Linked DNA regions of Homo sapiens: region 2 is linked to region 1. Evidence: promoter capture Hi-C in 16 types of primary human blood cells and fetal thymus (Javierre and others, 2016). All regions are on one chromosome and are shown on one strand. Each heading gives the region's core, a stretch centred on a gene start or on the middle of the fragment in contact. The rest is flanking DNA. Distances are from core to core; before and after follow the strand shown.

The links. Contacts are between HindIII fragments. The CHiCAGO score rates a contact against its expected background, and 5 or more counts as called.
Region 2: a contact is called between a fragment that was not itself captured here and the fragment with the promoter of PAWR in region 1, in 1 of 17 cell types (total B cells). The highest score is 5.1, in total B cells.

Annotation. Positions count from the first base shown.
Region 1 is chr12:79,689,407-79,694,024 of GRCh38, reverse strand. It overlaps PAWR (pro-apoptotic WT1 regulator), which reads left to right and starts at 3,061. Exons shown (of 7, transcript NM_002583.4): 1 at 3,061-3,153; 2 at 3,634-4,296. The coding sequence starts at 3,781. It overlaps PPP1R12A-AS2 (PPP1R12A antisense RNA 2), which reads right to left and starts at 3,993. Exons shown (of 7, transcript NR_187531.1): 1 at 3,629-3,993. RefSeq lists silencers at 2,764-3,063, 3,834-4,353. The HindIII fragment of the contact is 6,027 bases long and covers 1,719-4,618 here.
Region 2 is chr12:78,006,770-78,011,509 of GRCh38, reverse strand. NAV3 (neuron navigator 3) reads right to left here. Exons shown (of 40, transcript NM_001024383.2): 8 at 4,065-4,740. Among named protein-coding and RNA genes, the nearest start is that of NAV3, 180 kb to the right of the region's middle. The HindIII fragment of the contact is 1,778 bases long and covers 2,425-4,202 here.

The DNA.
Region 1 (4,618 bases), core at 1,812-4,311:
TCTATTAATGGAAACAGTTAAAAAGTTCAAAGTTTTGGGTAGGGTTTTCAGAATGGATAAGGTAGAGAGGGGATTGCTGTTTTTTGTTATAATCCTTGTAGAACTAAAGTATGTAATTTTTTTATCCTATGCACATATAATATTTTGATGTTAGAGGATGAATTGCATATGTTCCAGAAATACCTGCATTGAAGGCAAAATGGCTACTTCCCAATACACTAGCTATCCATACATATAATAATACACTTCCTCAAAATCATTAAGACTAACATCTAGGTTTCACTCTGACATATTTAAATGAATCTGTTTTTGTCAGCATTATCATCATATTTCATTTTATTATTAAGGGCAAGTGAGTCGCTAAAAATTGGTTATTTTAGGCTAACTCAGAGGTGCTCAACCGGGGAAGAATTTTATCCCAGGGACCATGTGGCAATGTCACAATACAGGTGGGGGTTTCTTATTGGTATCTAATAGGTAGAAGCCAACGATGCTGCTAAACAACCTACAATGGGCAGGACAGCAAAGAATTATCCAGCCCCAAATGTAACAGTGCTGAGGTTGAGAAACCAAGCTCCAAGTCTTTGAGGATTATTTCATCAGAACGCTATACATAAAGATTGATGATATGCAAACATCTTGCAATTTAGGACTGACTCAGCTAAATACCTCGGTGCAATGTTGGAAGCAGTCTGGCTGTGAAATATATCTTCGGGAATATTGAGAATGGTAAAGACAAAAGGTATAATAAATGATAATAATAACAAAACACAGAGCTTTGTACCTCAATAATCTCTTTCATCCATGGTTCCTAGGGCACTTTATAGACTAATAATACCTACTCTGGTACTCACATACCACCTTTTATCTAAGGACTGCAGGCACTTTCACAACACTCTCACGATGCAGGAAGTATTATTATCCCCATTTTATATGTAAGTAAACAGAGGCACAAAAGTTAAGCAACTTGCCCAAAGCCACACAAGTCAGTAGCAGCCAAAATTCCTGACTCAGAACCTATTAACACTAAGAGAACTGGTCTAAGCCATGCAGTGATAAATTTATGTGGGGTGTTATCCTAGTTCATTCAAAGTCTATCGTTTTTAGGCTGATATTGTATATTCAATACCCCATCTGTTATAATTTCCTCTTCTCCCATACACTTCTTAGAGACCAAGGACTTTAAGCCCCTAGAAGGGACTATGTTTACTGAGTGCCTTCCTCGAATCAAGCACATTTTATGTGCAGTGTCAGTTCTTAAGACAGCTTAAATATAATGTAATTGGGAGGCTGAGAGCAGGAGAATTGCTTGAACTCAGGAGGCGGAGGTTGCAGTGAGCTGAGATCCCGCCACTGCACTCCAGCCTGGCGACAGAGCGAGACTCCGCCTCAAAAAAAAAAAAAATGTAATTTTTGCTGATTTTATAGTACAGAAAGCTGAGTACCAGATAATGTAAACATGCCCAAGATCTCTCAGCTAGCTGACTATACCCTCTTTCCACTATATCCTGCAGCCCTTCCAGGAGAAAAGTCCTCTGATAAGTTACAAAGCATATGAATGTGAATACGTTTAATGTCCCAGCCTCCCTTACTCTCCTTAAAACTCAGAAAACAAACTAATGAATATGTAATTGAGAAACTTCAGGTGGCACACTGGGGTTGGTACTAGCTTAGGTAAACAGCCGCTCAGCCTTTTAGACCTATTCCCAACAAAAGCTTTTAATTTTCTAAGGATTTTTCCAGAGCTCTCGCCATACGTTTCCCACAACAGCCAGACCAAAGACCAAAACTGTCTTTCCCTGAGAAATATAGAGCATGTGAATCACTTTCTTCTGTTCCCAGTTCTGTGGCAGGCAAACACTGATTGCTCACTCATCATGTGCTACCTGGGCAAAACAGGAATATTAAGTAGGAAGAAAGGTTTATGTTAGGTAAGAGCGTGACTTAGGGCTCTCCTACTTTTTTACAAAATGGAGACCTGGCATTTGTAGCCTCCCACAATGATGTGCCCTGACATTACTTGGATATAGAAAGGTCAGTCTTAGGTGCGTCAGTGACAGCCCACCCCGCTCTGATCCAGAAATTTCAGATGACTTGCATCAGAGGATAAGCCTCTGGCATGTTAATAATGAAAAAATAGAGACAATCACTGCCCCAGCTCATCTCAAATTAGCATCAGTGCAGCGTTAGTACTTTGGTAGGGAGCTTTGCTGCTAAATTCATTCTCTGTAAAGAGGAGAGGCAGAGACAGGGTTAAGGGGAAAACTCCAAGACTGGAATCGCCAATACAATAAACTGTCGAACTGAGTTTTTTCTCCCGCAACCCTAAGATACTAGTAAGTCCTTCCTCTTAGCCAACCCTTTTCACCAGGGCACCGCAGTTTTCTTAGAAGGAGGGTGCTGGGTTTGTCTCAGGTCTTTCTATTCTCCTGCCCGCTGCCCTAGTACATCTGAAAAGGGAGCAGCGACTAGGAAAAGAGACACGTGGGTATTTTCCCATCCTGTCTAGTCATTCCCTGAATCATCACAAGTTATCGCACTTTTCCCCTTAGCCAGCAGCGTTCGAGACTTTCTCTCAAATAATACGGTCTTGTACTTAAAAGGAAGAGTGGTGGGAGAAGAGAGAGGCGGAGAAGACAAGCAAGAAGGGCGTGGAGTGCCGTTCCCGCCCCGGAGTCGGAGGCGCCGGGAGGCCGGACGCCGCGAAGCTGCTAGCCCAGGAATGTGCCGTCTAACTCGCAGGCCGCGGGCGGAGCGCGGCGGGCGCGCTGTGGTCTGCGGCGGGAGCGGGGCAGAGGACGGCTGGCGCAGGGCAGGCTGCAGCGGCGGGCCGGACGCGACGCCGCGCACCTGAGCGCCGGGGGCGGGGCGTCAGCGGCCACGACCCTTCCCACCGCGCGCCGCGCCCCTCGCGCGCCGCCTCGGCCTTTTCCGCTCGTGCTTCGGCGCCGCTCGGCTCCCTTCCCGCCCCTGGCTCCCTCCCTCCCTCCCTCCCTCCTTCTTCTCCCTCCCTCCTGTCCTGGGATTGCCTGGAGCTCCGCACCGCGAGTTTGCCGCGGCACTTTCCGCGCGGCGGAAGAGCGCGCGCCAGCTTCGGCACACCTGGGAGCCGGATCCCAGCCCTACGCCTCGTCCCCTACAAGCTCCTCCAAGGTAAGGCGCTCGCTCACACCCGGTCCTTTCCACGCTCGGCGGGACAGCTGGGTCCCCGCCTCCTCTGCGAACCGGCTAGGAGCTCCGCGCCTCGCCTTGGGAGTGGGGTTGTAGCTGACGGGGACCTCGGACCGGCGGTGGCTAGAGCGCGGAGCAGGCGATACGACGAGCCGACAGGTGGCGGGTCTAGCCCTAGTATCTCGACCGCCGCCGGCGCGGACCTTGGTGGGGATGGGGCGGGCGGGCCGACTTGGGGGTGGGGTCAGTCCTCTCTCCTCCCTTCTAGGGGCGGCGATCGTCGGGGTCCGTACTGTAGGTGCGTGGGAGAAACTTTGCAGGGTGGGGACCCGGCGGCTGCTGGCCGGTAGTGACTGGTGGGCGCGCTCGAGGACTCCAAGGGGCGCAGCCCGGGGGCAGACCCTTGGGTCGGGCGGGGATCTTACGCTTCCCTTACCCGCCCCCTTTTGTCTTTCACCTCAGCCCCGCCGGCTGCTGTGGGAGCGGCGGCCGTCCCTCTCCTGGAGGTCGTCTCCTGGCATCCTCGGGGCCGCAGGAAGGAAGAGGAGGCAGCGGCCGGAGCCCTGGTGGGCGGCCTGAGGTGAGAGCCCGACCGGCCCCTTTGGGAATATGGCGACCGGTGGCTACCGGACCAGCAGCGGCCTCGGCGGCAGCACCACAGACTTCCTGGAGGAGTGGAAGGCGAAACGCGAGAAGATGCGCGCCAAGCAGAACCCCCCGGGCCCGGCCCCCCCGGGAGGGGGCAGCAGCGACGCCGCTGGGAAGCCCCCCGCGGGGGCTCTGGGCACCCCGGCGGCCGCCGCTGCCAACGAGCTCAACAACAACCTCCCGGGCGGCGCGCCGGCCGCACCTGCCGTCCCCGGTCCCGGGGGCGTGAACTGCGCGGTCGGCTCCGCCATGCTGACGCGGGCGGCCCCCGGCCCGCGGCGGTCGGAGGACGAGCCCCCAGCCGCCTCTGCCTCGGCTGCACCGCCGCCCCAGCGTGACGAGGAGGAGCCGGACGGCGTCCCAGAGAAGGGCAAGAGCTCGGGCCCCAGTGCCAGGAAAGGCAAGGGGCAGATCGAGAAGAGGAAGCTGCGGGAGAAGCGGCGCTCCACCGGCGTGGTCAACATCCCTGCCGCAGAGGTGAGCCGGGCGGGGGCCGCAGCCGGACCGGGCCGGGGCGGGCAGCTGCCTCCCGGTGTCTTCCTCCTGGGAGCTACCCGGGGCGCAGAGTTTACCTCCCCTGGCTCGTACTTGTCCCTTCACCGAGTTAGGCAGGCAGGGGGTGATGGAGTTTTACTCTGAACAAATGCTTCCTGGGAAGTTCCCCAAACTCAGAGTAGGACACGTGCTTTTCAGGCTTCCTGGCCAGGTCTCAGATCCAGGATCCTTTTTTACCGTGGTAGAAAGACAACTTATGGCTCCAGGACTTGCCCACCTGGACTTGGCTGACTTGGCCACCTGG
Region 2 (4,740 bases), core at 2,064-4,563, 1.7 Mb after region 1:
TTCTTGGTGATGCATTAGTTTACTCCATTTTGCCAGATTTGTAAAAAACCCTCTTTTTTTCTACATTAATTGTGTATGTTGCATACACTTCCATAACAGTAATGGTTTAATATTTTTGATGATATTGTTCTTACTACCCTTAGTAGACTGAGCTCCCAGAAGGCAGAGATTTTTTTAAAAAATCTTTGTATCTTCTGTTACACAGTATTTGTAGAATGAGGGATGAGTACATAAATGAAAAAGTATGCAGCAATTTCCCTTTGCTTAAACTGTAATAACTGGTCACTTTGCCACTTTTTAAATACTTCAGATGGCCATCTTAACACTATAAAAAGCAGCCTATTCCAATTTCAGGTAGCTCTAGTTATCAGGAACTTCTTAAACCAAAATAAAATATTTTCTTTAATTCTTGACATTTTGTCTTAGTTATATCTATTTGATAAATGAATAAGAATAACAGCAAATTTGAAACTACTTTATCACTCTGTAGAGATAATTGAATTACTGAAACTATGTACAGAATAATTTATATTAGATAGGAAGTTAGGCTAATAGGAAATCTATTAACTTCCAGAATCCACATTATATTTATAGAACTCTGAACACCCAGTGTGTGACAAAGAGTACTATGAAGCATTTATTGAAGTCTCAGAAGGAATAAGTACTGACCTAGAATTGAGAAAAAAAGTCACCATCAGCCATCAATCTTCCCATTATATAAAAGTTATTTAATTATATTTACATATCATATATATATGTATCTGTATACATTTATATAATTTATACTAATTAACAGCAATTACCATTTTCAATTATAAATGAGTTCTGATTGAGAATTTTGCAAGTGTACTATTGGCATTTTCCTAACCAGAATTTTCTCAGTAACAATACCTCTTATTTCTGTCACATAGATAGAACTGATAAGCAAAGCAAATTTCTACTAGCTTTATGATCTGAAGAGATTATTACTATTCTGACTTAATATCTCTGCTTCTTCATTTCTGGAAAATGGGGGATGACATTTTTTCTCATGAGTTCATGATGAAGTTTAAATGAGAAAATTCACATATATTTTGTGACACAAAGATTTTCACTAAGTAAGCACTCAACAAATGATAATACCAACATCAAAAAGTAAATTATTAGTCTTATCTCATCAAATGATTAGCAACTCCAAAAATAATTGTCAGGGATTTTATAGGAGGGATTCTTACATGGGGATAGAACAGTGAAAGTCAGAAAGAACATAAAAGGTTACATAATCCAAATGTCATGACTCTATAAACAAGCTTTTACTGAAAGCTGAAAAGAATGAATATTAACCACTCTGCCTTTTGAGGATTTACATATTATTTGTAAAATTGTTCTGCATTGATTTAAAAACTTTGAATGAATATTACTTTATATATAGACTTCAATGTGAAATTTTATGAGACAGTTTTAATTTATTTATTTATTGTAGAAACAGGGTCTTGCTCTGGTGTACAGGCTGGTCTCAAAGTCCTGGCCTCAAGTCATCCTCCCACCTTGGCCTCCCAAAATGCTGGGATTACAGGCATGAGCCACCATGCCAACCATAGTTTCATTTATTTTTAGCTATCTTATATTGTTGATAATAATAAAAATAATTACTGATATTCATGTAATTTGCTCAAAATCTGGCTGTGTGCTAAAAATTTTACATGGGATTATTTTCTTTAATCTTTCATACAATCAATCGAGGTAGGCATCCTTTATCAATCATACTTTATAGGATTAGAAAGTGAAGTTTAGGGAAGGCTGTTTACTATGTGGCAGATACTGTTCTACAGATAAATATCAACTCAATCTTCAAAATAGGCTAATGAGGTAGCTTCTACAATTATCATACCTATTTCACAGATTAGGAAATTGTGGGTCAGAATCTTTACATATATGACCCAAAGTAACACAACTGATCAGTGGTGGCATTGAGATTCCCACCTAGGCAACCACCACCACAAGATGCTGTTTCTGAACAATGGTAGAGTAAGACATATTCTATCGCCCTTTTTTTCTCTTTTTTTTTTTTTTTTTTTTTTTTTTGAGTTTCCCTCTTGTTACCCAGGCTGCAGTGCAAATGCACGATCTCAGCTCACTGCAACCTCTGCCACCTCCTGGGTTCAAGCGATTCTCCTCCTGCTTCAGCCTCTCTAATGCCTCTTTTCTTAGCTACTTGGCTACACTGCCTCACTTTTATAGTCTTGTTGTTAAAGAGGTCAAACAGAAACTCAAAGAGTTTCTCAAAGAACTCATCAGGTTCACACAGCGGATCCACACTGTAACTTCTAAGCTGTGCTGCTGTGCTGCTTCCTGTTTTTGATATTTAAAAGTTACATTTTCAAATGGAAACCACTAAATTTGTTTCCACTGGATATTTTATTGCAAACAATTTTTTTAAAAGCTTGTTGCTACTTATAGAAAGAAGCCTACTAAATTAGCAGTTCTAGATTTACACTTTCCTATGAAATTCACTTGTGATTTTTTGAAAGGATTGATGTTTTTACAGAATATATTTGTAATCCAAAAGTGTGCTGAGTATGACATATTTAAAACTTCATGATTTTTTTTCTCACGTTTTTGAAATGTGGATCATGATTTTGACATCTTAAATTCTGCTTTGTCAAACAGGGACCCTGGAGTCAGAAGGAGCTGCAGACTCCCATCTGATCCAAATACAAGTATTTTAAATGAGTTAGTACTATTGAAGTCAGAATAGCAACATTCAATTGTAATGTCCCAAGAGCTTAAATGTAATAATTATAATAATTTTGTTTTGCTGAGTGTATAAAAAACCTCAGAAAAAAAGCACTTACATTCCTCATTGAGCAAAAAAATAAATCAGTATAAACTGCTTTATTTTAAAAACTTTTACATTCAAAAAATTTAATAAAATTTTAAACTATATAGTTTTGACCCTTTCTTAATTATAGTGGGTCCTGCTTCCTATTCATAAAATTTTCTTTCTGTAGTTAAATTGCCAACCTGCCCGAAAGAGGGACAAAGCAGACATTATTGCTCCCCAGGCCATCTCCTTACCAACCAAGCAGTGAATAAACTGGGGACACAGCAGTTACTGACATATCTCTAATCGATTAAAACAAATCACAGAACAACAAGCAAAGTGTTGTCTTTACCATTTGGATGGTAGGATGCATATTTTAAAATGCATAATAATGCATTTAAAAATTTTATATTGTGTATTTCAATGCCTACAAAATAAGAATGCAAAGTAAAATAAACAATAAATAAATAAAAGGTAAAAAAAAAACAAATCAGTAATACAACCCAAATAAGTAATACAAATTATATATGTAACCCCTTTTACCTAGAAACCTATGCCTTGCTGTGGGAAATTAATATAAAATTTACACTGAGAAAGTAATATCTTATAAATAACATTTGAAGAACATTTGCAACACATCAGGATATACAGTAAACATGTTATATGCATGACCTCTGTTAATAGTCTCAACTCTACAAAGTAGTGCATGGTTCCTATTTGACAGCTGAAGAAAATGAGACTAAAGAATGTTAAGTAACTTTCCCAATGTCTTATAGCTGAAAAGTGGCAGAACTAGGAATGAAATCCGCAACTTTATCATTTCAGAGGCTGCCTCTTTAACCATTATGGTATACTTTCTCCCAAAGATGACAACAAAAATAACCGTAAACGATGTAAAAGTGAGAATTATTTTAAAAGTCTGCCGCTAGTAATAGAAGCAGTATAGTAGTAGCAATAATATGAATAAACACAAGAGAAAGTTGTGGCATCTGGTTTCTAGCTGGCTTTTGATAACAAGTAATTCAATTTTTGAAGGTCTCAATTGCTGACAGGGAATGAGAGAGGGAATAAAACTAGATCCTACTGGAAGTCTTTTTCCAGACTAAGATTCCGCACTGAATTCTAGGCCTCTATCTTTAGCATGAAACTTTACTCCAAAATGACGACATAAAGCACCACTTTATCAGCCTTCCCTATTACACTCTGAGTATGTAGGCCTGTAAATATATTTACAACTGTGGATAAACAGAGGCCACCTTACCTGTAAATGAATGGTGCCACTGTCGCGGTATTCGGGTGGCTATGTTGCTGCTGTTGAGGGAGTTGGACAGCACCATTTCCTGTGCTCTGCCCACTGCTTTGTGCCACTGTCATGGTACAGGAACCAGAAGGAGAAGCTTGGCCAGCTTCCCTTCCTTCCAAAGGGGCAGGACAACTAGAAGCACTTGCTTTCTCCATGGTTATAGGCTTAGATAAGGACTGGGAAGGGCTCCCCTTGGTAGTCCTGAATTTCTCAGACTCTTTGCTTGCTGTGCTGCCAGGTGAAATGGTTTGCTTTACTGTTGGAACTTTAGAGCCTGGTTTTGGAATACCACTGGAAGACGGAATTAAGCTTTCCTTCTTAGCTGCTGTTGTCTTGCTGCCCTTAGGGATCAAGCTTGCAATTTTGGAGGTCTTTTTTGGAGCCATCTCTGTCACCTGATCCTTCTCTTCTTTGACTGGTTTTTCAGTGCAAACTTTATTTTTGTCCCTGTTCTTTTCTTCTTTTTCCTTTGGCTGTAGCAAAGACTTTTTATTGCTGAGATTTTTGCTTCCAGCTTTTGGAGGGGCCAACTTAGGTGACACTTTGGGACTGCTATTTGTTGAGCCACCACTATTCAGACCACTGTTAAAACCTTCCATTTCACCAGATTCAGAAAAGGCATCATCATCCTTCC